2 separate regions of the Homo sapiens genome follow, and region 2 is linked to region 1. Evidence: promoter capture Hi-C in human tissues and cell types (Jung and others, 2019). All regions are on one chromosome and are shown on one strand. The core of a region is centred on a gene start or on the middle of the fragment in contact, and the rest is flanking DNA. Distances in the headings are between cores, read along the strand shown. Region 1 holds the start of TBATA (thymus, brain and testes associated). Region 2 overlaps SGPL1 (sphingosine-1-phosphate lyase 1).

The links. Contacts are between HindIII fragments. The study calls those that stand out against the background at their distance.
Region 2: a contact is called between a fragment that was not itself captured here and the fragment with the promoter of TBATA in region 1, in 2 of the 25 tissues and cell types used here (liver and thymus).

What each region holds. Positions count from the first base shown.
Region 1 is chr10:70,780,775-70,788,017 of GRCh38, forward strand. TBATA (thymus, brain and testes associated) reads right to left here and starts at 4,603. Exons shown (of 11, transcript NM_001318241.2): 1 at 4,511-4,603; 2 at 3,873-3,999; 3 at 2,565-2,751; 4 at 1,027-1,262. The coding sequence starts at 2,605. The HindIII fragment of the contact is 18,774 bases long and covers 1-7,243 here.
Region 2 is chr10:70,861,656-70,868,898 of GRCh38, forward strand. It overlaps SGPL1 (sphingosine-1-phosphate lyase 1), which reads left to right. Exons shown (of 15, transcript NM_003901.4): 8 at 6,690-6,778. Among named protein-coding and RNA genes, the nearest start is that of PCBD1, 23 kb to the right of the region's middle. The HindIII fragment of the contact is 9,380 bases long and covers 1-7,243 here.

The DNA.
Region 1 (7,243 bases), core at 3,353-5,852:
TCAAGCCAAAAATCTAAGTCGGCCTTGACTCTTCTCTTCCTCTCACACTCCACTTTTAATCAATCGCCAAGTCCTACTGACTTTACATTTCACATATCTCCAGCATAGAGCCACTGAGTCTTCCACTTCTAGCCCCTGGTCCAAGCCACACTTAAGACAGAGGCCAGGATGACCTTGTTAAAACATCTCACTTCTGTGCTCTCAGCCTTCCAAGGGCTCCAGCTGATTCAGGAAAGTGGCTTAATGGTGACAATAGTGGCCCAAATGCCTACCTGATCTGGGCCCACTGTCTCCCTGATGCCTTCTCCGTTCTCCTCTCCTACTTTACTCCAGCCAGACCAGCTTCTGCTTCCTTGCTGCTGCTCCAACAGAGTGGGAGCGCTCTTGCCTTCTGGACTTTGTATTTGCTGATCTACCTGCCTGAGACATCTTTCCCCTGCTGTGTGCATAGTTCCTGTGTAGTTCTTTGCTCAAATGTCATGTTAATGGCCATGTCTTCTGTGACCACCTTTCAAAAATAGCTATCTTCCCACTGCAGCCTGGGCACTTGACACCTTCCCCATCTCCCATCCCTCCCCACTGGAGGTCAGCTCCAGGAGGGGGGCCACCATGTCTGTCTTGTTCACTGTTGTATCCCCAAGGCCTAAAAAAGTGCCTAGCCAATAGTTCACACTCAATCAATATTTGATGGCTGGCTGGATGGCTGAGTGGCTGACATGGCCTAAGTTAGAGAACTTAAGAGAACAGAGCACTGCTCCAGGACAGAACTTATCCCTTTCTCTGATTTGTAAAATGGGAGAACCCAGCAGTCAGGGGAATCTGTAGGGAACCTGTCACCCACCCTTGGAGGCTTCTCTCCTGCCCACTGAGCAGTCCTGGCTGGGTTCTTTGGCAGCCCTGGGATCCTGGACCCCATCCTCTCTGGGCCCCAGCCTGGAAATGGGCTGCCATCAATTCTTGCTTCCCAGTTCTCAAGACCAATTAGTGATACTCCCTCTGCTCCCACCCCAACCAGCCAGGCCCTACCTTGGATGTGGGTCACGTGCTGGGGGTGTGGGTGGTGCCGGGAGAAGAAGGAGTGGTGACTGAGGCGTCCAAAGCAGTAGGTGCCAGGGGTTTGGGGCTTTGGGGTCCTCAATGCCCGGCGGATCCGCTCGAAATCCACAATCCCTGGGATCACCAGTTCTTTCTGTGGCCCACTGTCCCTGGGGCTCCTTGGCTTGCGCCCTGACTTCTTCTCCAGTTTCAGCTCAGCCTTTGGACTGAAGGAGGGGGTTTCAGGAGAAGCTAATGGAGTCTCCTCTGGCAGTGGGCCCACCTGGGCTCAGAGCTCAGTGCTTGTTACAGAACCCCTTCCTGAGGAGCTCTGAAATCTGGTTTCCTGGGTTTCACCACCACCCCCATAGCACCAAAAGCTAGGCCTCCCCCAGAGTCCTTTCCCAACTGGTGCAATCCTGTCCTGGTTAGTCTTCCTTATCAGGGAGCTGGCATCCATTTGAGGGAACTCAGACTCTCCCAGCACCCCAGTTTTTTCCCAGAGACCATATCTGAAACCAGAAAGAGAAGCTGCAGACCCACCTACTCATCAAAATACCCAGGATGGAGCAAAGTCACCTTATATACATCCCTGGGGATGGGGATGGTCTCAACAGGGGCCTCTCCCCAAGCCAGACTGTGGACAGCCCAGAGGCCAGCTATAGGCTGTCATCCTCCCCCATGCACTCAGGAGTAGTCTTGGCTCAGACTCAGCGTCCAGAGGCCAGAGCTGGAGCTTAGGCCAGACCAGACCAGCAAGTTCTGTTCCCATGGGGGTCCCTCCTAGGAGAGGAAGAGCTGACGCAGCAGCTACTGGGGCTGTGGCGCTGAGGGAAGCTTCAAGCTCTGTTTTGCTTTGCTGGAGACAAGCCAGCTTGGGTCCTCTCTCCTCTACCCCACACCCCTCCCCTTCCTGAGGACGCTATGCATCTGCCCTTGGAGGAAGGTCAAGATCAGCAAAGGTGGGCCAGTCCCCACTGGAGGCCTGCTGGGACCACCTGCCTGATCGCTGTCTGCATGCCCTTCTCACGGTGGCCCTGGCTGAAGGGAGTCCTTTTGGAGTACAGATGGACTCTGGATGTGCTAAGCAAGGCGTGCCGCCCCCGGACCCTCTGAGGACTCCACTGACTTGGCCCCTGAGTTTCCTGTTCCATTCTCCATTCGCCTCTAAGGGATCTGGGGCTTAAAGAAATAAAGCAAACCTTCTCTGAAAGTTGCAGTTAGCTGTCCTCTTCTACCCCCAAGTAACAGAGGAAGTCACCTCCTGAGAACCCCTGGAACTCCTTTGCTCAGTGCTTCTGGCACCCGCTCAAGTCTTTTCCCTGCCCAGGAGGGGCAAAGCCCACTACCTGGGCTAACTTGAGCCTGAGGACCCATTGGGGGGTCTGGCTGACCGGCAGCAGAAGTCCAGTAAGAACCACCTCTCTTGGACTCCTAATCTGTTGAGATCCCCCAAGGCCACCTTTGTCTTCTACCCTGCCCTACCCCAAGCCCTCCTCAGTCAGCAGGGTGGGCATTTGGAGCCTCACCTCATCAGTGGATAATCAGCCAATTGAACATCTGTAGCCATTGTATGCTTTTTAACAGACTAAAGGCCAGTGCACTTAATACTAGCGTTGAGGATGCAGAACAGGAACTCTCACTTAATACTAGTGTTGAGGATGCAGAACAGGAACTCTCACGAACTGGTGGTGGAAGTGTAAACGGGAACAGGCACTTTAGGGGGAGAAATGGTAATATCTTTTAAAATTGAGCATTTGCATGCTGTATCACCCAGCAATTTCTTTCCCAGATATAAGAGAAATTCTTATAGATGTACAACAGGGGCTACTTATAAGAATATTCATACAAACACTGTTCAAAATAGCAAAAACCTGGTGGCAACCCAAATGTCTGATGGCAGAAGAATGGATAAATAAGCTGTGGTGCATTCAGACAATGGGATACTTTATTGCTATGAAAATAAATGAGCCACAGCTACATGTAACAACATGGATGAATCTTATAATCAGTATGAGAAAACTTAACAATTCTTGGTTTTGCGATGTTATATTTATGCAATCTTATTAACTCAATTTACTTTTTATTAATTACTATTAAATAGGCTGCAGTAGAACAAGATATATGCATTTGAAACAATACAATTGTTGTCATCCACTATATATAATGTGTGGATAATATAAAATAACTACTAAACAGTATAAATGTTGTTTAAAAACATATTATTTTTCTTTCATAAATGGTTTAGTTTATGTGTGTTCCAGAGGACCACAAGTTCCAGAGGACCACATAGCCTGAGATCCTTTCTAAAAATAAAAGTTTAAAAGCAAGCAAAATGATCATGAACATGCGATAAAACAGCAACAACAGCATCAAACAAGGAAATGCTAAGCACGAAATTCACATAGTGGCTATTTCCGAGGGAAGGCGGGGAGGGGAAGTGTGCAGGAGAAGCGCATATAAGGAGATGTGTTAGTGATGATGTTCTTGTTCTTGGTTTGGGTGGTGTATTTGCTTGTGTTTATTATATTATTAAATAAACTAATTAAATGGCATAGATGAAAGATGATAGGTGTCAAAACCAAGAATTATGATTAAATCTATGGACCTGAATATATATATCTAGCCAAAGTGCTAGGGATGGGGTTGGGACAGGACATCAGTGCATTCTGAGAATTAACCCTCAGAGTCACAGAATCTGCAAGGGACCCCAGAGATCTCCCAATGCCAGCCTTCATCAGGTAGTGGGATGGGTTGGAGTTGTCTGAGATCAGGGAAGCAGGGGAGATTTGCTGAGGTCACACAGAAGGAACCAGAGCCCGGGCAGTCTGACTCACAGTTTGCTGATCTTTTCTTTCCTTAAAAGGAAGCTCCAGACATCCTTGATGTCAGGTACTGGGCTCTAGAGTACTGAGATGCTACAATCTTGAGAACAGGATATGTGGAAGCCCCAAATCCTCCTGCCTATGGGAAAAAGTACTCTTTAGAACAGAGACTTGCAAATGTGTTTGGCTGTGATGACGGTAAGAAATTCTTTATGTCATGATCCAATTCACATATGGGTTTGTGTGTGTGTGTGAAACTAAAACAATAATATCCTGAAGCAATATTTATCCGTACTACATATGATGCACACTGATATTTTTACCCTATTTTTGGTTTTTATTTCTTAAATGTTAGATATGATCCATTTAAATTGATCTAATAAGCCACCAGGGGGTCATAACCCACAGCGGCTGTAGAGAGGCTGACAGGGACTCTAGTAGGCCAAGCCTGCCTTGTCCAGAGCGGGACAGGTGGGACCCCAGTGTAGTCTGCCCTGCCCTGCCCCTGCTCTCTGTCCCTGGGGCCCCAGCCAGCCAGGCAGAGGGGTCTGAGGGCTCCCATCAATCCAGCCACAAAACTTCCCTTTCTACCTCTGCCCTTCTGGGCTGTCCAGGGTCCATCTCCTCTCCCGAGAGGTCCCTGGACTCACCAAGGCAGTGCCCGCTACAGCATGTGTACGAGAAGCCCTGCTGTCCTAGCAGGAAGGAGCAAGAGGACAAATCGAGGGGAAGGCTGTGGGTTCTGTGGGCAAGTCTGCCTGCTTTGTGACACTGAGCCCAGTGGTTGCTAGGTTACCCTGTTCCCACAACTCCAGAACCTCTGCCCAGCACCCCTCTACCACATCCCCTGCCTATCTCCCCCTCCTGGAAGGGTAGACAAGGGCTAAGGACCTTCTGTCCCTCCTGACTTCCCTGCTGCCTCCCATCCAACACTTTCAATGGGGGCCAAGGGAGAGAAGGAGAGTCTGGGGCTGGTTTTAGCCAGAGAGAAGCGGATGGAGGCGGAACGCTGGCAGAGGACGTTGGTGGGCTGCGTCCCAGCTTCGTCAGCCCCACCTGGCCTGACCCCACCACACAGGGGTCGGCTTCCATGCATCTTGGTTCTGGGGACCCATTCTCAGGGAGGTGGGTCTTGGAAGGAGAGAAGATGGCAGCCCGCATTACCCAGAGGGACCCCAGCCCCTCTCTCTGCATGACAGCTGGGTGGGAAGATTCTGGGCTTGCATTTGGACAGGTGTTTTAATCAGATTTCAACATCCCATAGACACGTTACCTTGGGTAAGTCACCGGGACTGCCACAGATGCAAAATAGTGGGAAGAATCCTTGCTTCGAGTCCCTATTCTGCTACTTCCTAGTTGTGTGGCCTCAGACAATGCACCTGCCTTCTCTGAGCCTTAGTTCCCATATCTCTAAAATGGAGATGATGATACTGCACTTATTCTCACAGGATGTTTGAGAATATTAAGTGAGTTGATATATATTAAAGCGTTTCAAACAGTATCTGCCCCCAAGTATAATTTCTTACTATTATTGCCTTCTCTGGGTCTATAAAATGGGATATCCTCACCTACTTCTGTGGTTGTTCTGAAGACAAGCTAATGGAAGTGAAGCCTTTAGTTGTATGTCTGGCACACAAGAGATGCTCAAAAAGGATAATAATCATCATTATTATTGGTAACTTGATGGAGGTAGTAGGATGAGTCCTTTGTCTGAGAACTATCTTAGGTAGTTCACTATTTCTCTGAGGCTCAACTTGGACACCTGTCAAATGGGGGTAAGGATAGTTCTTAGCCGACAGGGCTGTAACTCAATCAGATCCCGGGAGGGGTGCAGACAGGCTCTGTAAACTATGGGAAGGCTTGCAGACAGTGCCGGGTGCTGTCCCTCAGAATGATGAGGTGGGCTTTTCCCAGGGCCTTTGCTCTCAGCACCCCTGGCTTCATACTGGTGCCCTGGGGCTTCCAGACTCTGTGTCTTTTCTCTGGGGAGCAAGAAAAGGAAGGTGGGTAGCTAGAGGCAAACCCAAGTCCTTCAAAAGTTCTGCCCCTCCCAGCTAAGGGGTGGGGATTCATACCACTCTGGTGGCCCCCTGAGGGCTGTCCTCTGGTCTTGGCCTACTCCAAATGCCCACCCATCCTTCGGCAGGTCAGGATGTTCCCTGGCTTTTTCTGGGCCTGTCTCTGCAGGAATACGGTGACTCTTTTGAAATCATACTGAAAACCCCCTCTTCCATACTTCTGGGCATCCTGGCAGCTGTGAAGATAGATGATATAGCATTTGGGAGAAGAGAGGCTTTCTTCCCCGTGACAAGCCACTCCTCCCTCCTGCTTTCAGCACTCTTGTGGCATTTCCCACCACGCGAGCTGACTCAGCTGAGATGAAAACCCACTCTCATCCTCCCCACTGGTGCCTTGTAATGCTTCAACTATGTTATTTACAATCGAGCATGGGGGTCTGCATAGGGACTGCAGCTGGGGGGATGAAGGGGTTCCTCAGGAAATGTCTTCAACACTGGTTTGTAAAAGAAGAACTGAGGAAACTCTTCTGACTCCTTTGTGGAGTGTCAAAAACTGTAGAGAGATCTGTCAGCCTGAGAGTGATTTGAGGTACAGTCCTTGGCCTGGATGACTCAGTCATAACAGAGGCAATAGAAACTTCATGGAACACTTTCTATGTGCCAGGCACTGTGCCAACCTCTTAGATATATTACCTCATGTAATCCTATAGATGGAGAAATTAATGATCAGATAAATCTTTAGTTATTTGTGTTGCAAATATATTCTCTCCTTTGTGTCTTGCTTGTCTGTGTCTATATGCAGTCTTTTGATAAAGAGAATTCCTAATTTTAACATAACCCAGTTTATCAATTTTGTCCTTAATGGTTAGTGGGTTTTGTGTTTTAAGAGATTTTTGCCTACCCAAGGTTATGAAGATAATTCTCATTATTATTTTCTGAAGATTTACTGTTTTGCTGTTCATGTTTAGATCTACAATCAATACGGAATTGATTTTTGTGTTTGGTGTAAGATAGGGGTCAAAATTTATATATATTTTTTCCATATAAATATCCATTCGACCCAGTACCATTACTTAAAACATTGTCCTTATCTCTGCAGTACCATCTTTAACAAAATTCAAGTATCCGTATATGTGTGGGTCTGTCTCTGGACTTTCTGTCTACCAATGCACCAACACTATATTCTCTTAATTACTGTAACTTTAAATACATCTTGATGTCTATATAAGTGGTATAAGACTTCCAGCTTTGTTTTTTTAAGAGTGTCTTGGATATTCTAGTTCCTTTGCCTTTCCATACAAATTTTAGAATAATCTTATTGATATCTACAAACATTTTTGTTTAGATTTTTATAGGAATCAGGTT
Region 2 (7,243 bases), core at 2,601-5,100, 80 kb after region 1:
CCGGAACCAGGGCTGCGCGCAGCGCTTGCGGGCCAGCTAGAGTTCCCGGTGAGCATGGGCTTGGCGGGCCCCGCACTCGGAGCAGCCGGCCGGCCCTGCCGGCCCCGGGCAATGAGGGGCTTAGCACCCAGCCAGCAGCTGCGGAGGGGGTTCTAGGTCCCCCAGTAGTGCCGGCCTACCGGCACTGCGCTCGATTTCTCGCTGGGCCTTAGCTGCCTTCCCCTGGGGCAGGGCTCGGGACCTGCAGCCCGCCATGCCTGAGCCTCCCACCCCCTCCGTGGGCTCCTGTGTGGCCCCAGCCTCCTTGACGAGCGCCACTCCCTGCTCCACGGCGCCCAGTCCCATCGACCACCCAAGGGCTGAGGAGTGCAGGCGCACAGCGCAGGACTGGCAGGCAGCTCCAGTCCTGCAGGCAGCTCCACCCGCAGCCCCGGTGCGGGATCCACTGGGTGAAGCCAGCTGGGCTCCTGAGTCTGGTGGAGCCTTGGAGAACCTTTATGTGTAGCTCAGGGATTGTAAATACACCAATCGGCACTCTGTATCTAGCTCAAGGTTTGTAAACACACCAATCAGCACCCTGTGTCTAGCTCAGGGTTTCTGAGTGCACCAATCGACACTCTGTATCTCGCTGCTCTGGTGGGGGCTTGGAGAACCTTTGTGTGGATACTCTGTATCTAACTAATCTGATGGGGACGTGGAGAACCTTTGTGTCTAGCTCAGGGATTGTAAACGCACCAATCAGCGCCCTGACAAAACAGACCACTTGGCTCTACCAATCAGCAGGATGTGGGTGGGGCCAGATAAGAGAATAAAAGCAGGCTGCCAGAGCAAGCAGTGGCAACACGCTCGGGTCCCCTTCCACACTGTGGAAGCTTTGTTCTTTCGCTCTTTGCAATAAATCTTGCTACTGCTCACTCTTTGGGTCCACGCTGCTTTTATGAGCTGTGACACTCACCACGAAGGTCTGCAGCTTCACTCCTGAAGCCAGTGAGACCACGAGCCCACCGGGAGGAACGAACAACTCCGGACGCGCTGCCTTAAGAGCTGTAACACTCACTGTGAAGGTCTGCAGCTTCACTCCTGAGCCAGCGAGACCACGAACGCACCAGAAGGAAGAAATTCCGGACACATCCGAACATCAGAAGGAACAAACTCCAGACGTGCTACCTTAAGAGCTGTAACACTCACCGCGAGGGTCCGCGGCTTCATTCTTGAAGTCAGTGAGACCAAGAACCCACCAATTCCGGACACAGTAGAAGCCCATTGGGCTTTTCAATTTTATTTACTCTAATTTCATTCTAAAGAATTCTGTTTTGTAGTTCTCCTTTTATTTTATTATTATTTTTTGAGACAGGGTGTCACTCTGTTGCTCAGGCCAGAGTGTAGTGGTGCCATCTCAGCTCACTGCAGCCTTGACCTCTCTGGGCTCAAGCGACCCTCCCACCTCAGCCCCCTTGAGTAGCTGGGACTACAGGCATGCACCACCATGCCTCGCTAATTTTTGTATTTTTAGTAGAGATGGGGTTTCACCATGTTGCCCAGGCTGGTGTTGAACTCCCAAGCTGAAGTGATCTGCCTGCCTTGGCTTCTCAAAGTGCTGGGATTACAGGCGTAAGCCACCACGCTTGGCCGTCTTTTTTTTTTTTTTTTTTTTTTAATCTGCTTGGTTGTTTTTTATAGTCCTTTTCCTTGGCTTAACTTTTGTTTACTTAAATATATTACACATAAATATGTTGTATTCTGTGTCTGATAATTCCAATATCCATGAGCCTTACCTGATTCTGCTGGCTTCAGTCATGGTTCCTTGTTTCCTTATATTTGTGATTTTATTTTATTTATTTATTTTTTTATGAGCCACTCATTTTTCTGGGAACCTAGGGATTCTTTGAGGCCTAGATTGAAGTTAAGTCTGGAAGTTCTCTTCTTCCAGAGAAGATTTGTCATACCTTTTTGAGTTGCTGGGGATTGCCACCACACTGGAACCAAATTAAGTCAAATCCTTAGCTTGTCATTTTGTACCACAGAGGTAGTGTGAATTCTGACCACAAACTCACATAAAGGCTTCCTTGTTACACATTCTTGAAAGATTGCTATTTTTCTTTACTTGAACATCAGGGTTGAGAAAAACAGTTTTTCTTTTCTCTTTTGCAGTAGTGGGATTTATTTCTTGTACACTGTAGAGTGTGGTCTTTTTCCAGCCATCTCCTGTTGGACTCCTTATCTTGGGCAGTCTCTAATGTATCTTCTGGTCCATCCTTTGCTCATCTGTCAGTGTAGGAGTTTGAAGTCTGAAGGGTCTGGTGCCACCTCAGGGTGAAAGCTAGTTTTGCCACTCACTTATCTTGCAGGATTCTTGATTTTGCTTTGTTTGGGGGTTTAGCAAGTTTCTTTATGTTAGGTTAGTGATAGGTTTAAATTTTTTTTTTTTGATGTTTTATCAAGTTTTTTAGTTATTTCAGTTAGGAAGGTTGCTCAAGGTATATAATATTGCTAGAAATAGAAGTTCCATAATTGTTTTTTCCATGTTACAGACCTTCGTCTATTTGAAAGCCCCTTTCTCCCTGAATCTTCTCTGCCCCACATTTTTCTGGGTTACTCCGCTTTTCATATGATTTCACAGACTTCCAACCATCGCAGTCATTCTCTGTATGACTTTTGGTTGCCTCTGGCCAGATTGAACACAGTTCTCCACATTTGGAGTGGCATTGATCTTTCAATCTCTGTCTTTTTTAAATCTGGGTTCAATAAACTTATTTCAGACCTTTTCCTTGAAGTCAGCATTTTTATTCTTGGCAATGTTTATTTTATTCCTTGCTGTTCCTAATGTCTTTGTTAGTTCTGTATGGATGCTACTGGCTTTGTTTTTTTAGGTCTGTAGCTCATTCTTTTTGTTTCATGGTCTAGGTTTTGAACTCTTTGTTTTCTTAAATTCATGTTCTTATGATATTTTCCTATAGTGAGAAAGTTATAAGGGGTTTCCTTCATCCCTTAGCTTGTTTCCTTCTGTGTTGGGTTTTTATTTTGCATGCTACATACTACCTTTTCCCCTGCCTTTTAGTTTGTTTGCATAGTTTCCTTGCCATTTTCTCTCATCTTGGGGTGGCATTCTCCAGACATTGTTCTTATGCACTGTGGGTGCTTCCTGTCTGAGACCATTTGGCTGGGGACAAAGCTCAGCCAAAGCTTTGTTCTATCTGTATTAGAATAACCAGGTCTATTCTGAGATTCTCTTCAAAGTTACCTATCAGAGTTCACTCTCTTATTTGGAAGAGATAATATACCCTTTGAGCTCTGATTATTTAATTCACTGAAGTCTTCACTCTAAAGAGCCAATCCTGATGTTCTCTCTTCATTTTGCTCATTTCTCCCTAGCAGCCATGTTTACCACTCACTCATGAGAAGAAGAAGAAAATAAGGAAACCCCCTCAGCTTGCCTCTGCAGATTTGGGGGTATAAAGGAAAATTCTCAGGATTTTGCTGACTTTGCGGTACAGTTTCAAGGGCTGATTAGAAACTAGTGTTTTGCTTACTTCTGCTCTCTGCTGTTTCACTGTTTCTTTTTTTTTTTTGATTGCCAATATTTGAAGTTTATTGCCTAGATTATCTCTCTTTCCTTGTTTGGTTGTTGTTATTGTAGATTTTGACTCTTTTCTCTCCCTGCACTCACCCTTTTTTTTTTTCTTCCCATCTTACTCCTGAAGTCCAGGCCTAGGGGTTTTTTGCATTGCTGCAATTAAACCATATCTCTATTATTTTGATCTTCAGCACGTGTGAGGGATCAGAAGAAGGATAGAGTCTGATTCCCAGGCTCTTCTAATATTTAGACTTTTATAAAATAACTAATCAGCACTGGTATTGTCTTTTTCCCTCTCCCACTCTGTCTCCCCCACTCCTCCCTTAGCTTCTTACTTCTCTCTCTGGATGAGCTGCTTCTAGTGAAGAAAGAGTTCACTGTTCAGAGGTGGGAAGCCAGAAGATAAAACCAAATGGCTGGGCAGTCTTTAGGTTATTCCTAGCTAAGAGTTAAGAGTTGTAAGCTCTCTCATTCTTTGTTCTTCAGCCTTAAACTATCTTTCCTTCTATTAACTTTATTTGTCTCAGTTACAATGATAGAGGTAACTTCACATACTAAAAGAAATTAGGTTACCATGTGAAACATTCTTCTTGGCTTGTGCTAATGTTATCAGATCCAAACAGCATCTGAAAGAAAATTTTCCAAGTAGATGTTGTTCTCTTGTTTTCTGAAATACATATCATATGTTAAAGTGAGAGTTTTTATACATGTTGAAAGAAGTTGAATGACATAACAAATAGTTACTGAGGCCTCCATTTTCTTACTTCACAGTTAAAATTCCTGTTTCTCTTTGGGTATAGGAGGTAGAAAGAAGTGGGAGAGTAATAGCATTTTAAAACACAGAATCAAAAATACATATTAAAAGTAGAACTTAGGCCCAGGCACAGTGACTCACGCCTGTAGTCCCAGCACCATGGGAGGCTGAGGCAAGTGGATCGCTCGAGCCCAGGAATTCGAGACCAGCCTGGGCAACTAGGTGAAACCCTGTCTCTACAAAAAATACAAAAGTTAGCCAGGCATGGTGGGGTGTGCCTGTAGTCCCAGCTACTTTGGGGGATGAGGTGGGAGGATCTCTTAGGCCTGGGAGGTGGAGATTGCAGTGAGCCGAGATCACGCCATGGCACTCCAGTCTAGGTGAAAGATTGAGACCCCATCTCAAAAAAAAACAAAAAAGAAAAAAGTAGAATTTAGGTATTCCTACTTTTACAGTCAAAAGTCCACTGGTGTTTGCATAACAATGATGTTTTGACTAGTTATTGGACTAAAAGTAGGACACATGAAGCAGGTGACTAGGAATTTGGAAATATTATTGCTTAGGTCATTACTGGACCTTACGAAGAGATTGTTGCACTGGTGACTTGGACTTTGCTGGTCCCTCCCCGACTCTTCACAGCTGGCTTGACGACTCTTGTGACATTCTGAGGTTTTATGCTAAACCACAGGACATGCTGCTGATTTGCAGAGCTGACCTCAGCTGTAAGCACTTTGTCTTCTGCAGCGTAGAAATGTAGTGACCTACAAGTGTCCCATGCCCAAGTTGGGTGCATTATTTTTTGGTGATGGTCACATGTTTCATAAAGACTTCCTGAGTCAAAAAATGACTTTTCTCAGTTCATCTTCCATATAACTCCTGGCCACAGGGATTTTGTATCCAATGGTATTTTTGTTCTATGTGTGGATATTATTTTAGCAAAGTTCAGTGGTCACTTTCTCTGATTCCATCTTGTATTAAGCTACACTAAATATGAAAACGTAGAAAGTTTTACTTCTTATCAACAGATGCTAATGTATGACATTGAGTGAAACACTTTAATTCCTCAAGGGCTCAGTTTTCTCACCTGTAAATTGAAAAAACCTTTCAAAGATTGTATGAATCTTCAGAGATGGTAAGTCTAAGAAGTTGTCCAACTAGTTTAGTATTGTGGCTTTTTGTTTGTTTTGGAATGATTCATTCTCATATATTATTTTTTAAAAAAATAGCCAGGTGGCTATGACATGCCTGTGTTGGTCAAGGTTTACTGAGAGTCAAGTCAGGCATTAAGAAATGTGAAGGCCAGGTGCAGTGGCTCACACCTGTAATCCCAGCTCTTTGGGAGGCTGAGGTGGGCAGATCACTTGAGGCCAGGAGCTTGAGACCAGCCTGGCCAACATGGTGAAACCCCGTCTCTGCTAAAAATACAAAAATTAGGTGGGCATGGTGGTGGGCGCCTGTAATCCGAGCTACTCGGGTAACTATGGCAGGAGAATCGCTTGAACCAGGAGGCAAAGGCTGCAGTGAGCCGAGATCATGCCATGGCACTCCAGCCTGGGCAACAGAGTGAGACTCTGTCTCAAAAAAAAAAAAAAAATGGATTGAGGGTTTGTTAGGTGTCAGCCACTATGTCAGGTGCTAGGAATTTGTCATGAACAGACTGGTCCCTACTTTCATGAATTTATAGTCCAGTGAGGGAAATAAGATGAATAAAAAGACCCCTACGTCTTTTTGTTTGAACTCTGGTAAAGAAATGTGTTTATCAGAGGGGCTAGGCCAAACTTTAGGAAAACATTTCACTTCACTTAAAAAAAATTAGGATTTTTGTTTTATTTCAGATAAGGCAACAAACTTCCATCAAGTAGAAACTTCTGCTTTTCTCTGTCTTTCAAACTTGTCAAAATCAGCAGTTTACTTTGTTAAATCTGAATGTCTCTTTTTAGTGTATTGCACAGTTTACTAGAATTGTAATCACAATTTCACATTCTTTAACAGGTATTGAAAATTTAAATTAAAATTCTGATATTTTTGAATGGCATAAAATGCCCTATCTTATCTGAAAATTGAAAAATTAATACAGAAATGTAAATGGATTGTGAATAGGTGGGATCTGGCCAAGTGTGCATTTGTCTAGGCAGTGCTGAGTTTCTGCTCATTATTTAGTAGCTTTCATTCTTCACCTGAGCCAAAATTAGGCTTAGCCAATAAAGCCAAATTTTCCTTCTGGAAGACATGGCAGTGTCTGCCTTGCAGCATGCATCCAAGACCTTATCTGTTTCTGTATCAAACATTGTCAAGATCAGGGCATGAAGAGCCGGGGCATTCCTGACTCCCCCAACAGATGGCATCTCTTCTTTATTATAGGTGACTTCTGGGGGAACAGAAAGCATACTGATGGCCTGCAAAGCATATCGGGATCTGGCCTTTGAGAAGGGGATCAAAACTCCAGAAATGTATGTATGTGTGGCTGTTTTGTCCCCTTTTGGATTTGTCTGTCTGGAGTACAGCTTTATGAAACTAAAGCAGATAATCCATTTTCCTGCTGCTTCTCTTCCTCTGGTAATTCTGGTCCCCTTTCCCCCTGTCCTAGCCCCTCTGCCCTTATCCTTTTACATTCAGTAAAATTCTAAATGGATCAGCCAGTTATTTTTAAAGATCATTCCCATCCCGCCCCACCCCCAGATCATGCATAGTATATACTACAAGCAAAAATAAGATCCTTTTTCCAAAAGTGAGAGTTTGAGGACTACATCTTTGAATCCTGTGATATTTGCAAATTATTTGGAGCCTAAAGAAACCTCTCTAGGTACTTTAGTTCTGCTTACCTTAGAAAGTTACTTAATATTATAGGCTGCCTCAGGGTACTCTCTGGGAAAACTTTAGTGTGAGGGCTGTTTTCTGGGAGGAAGAATAAAAAT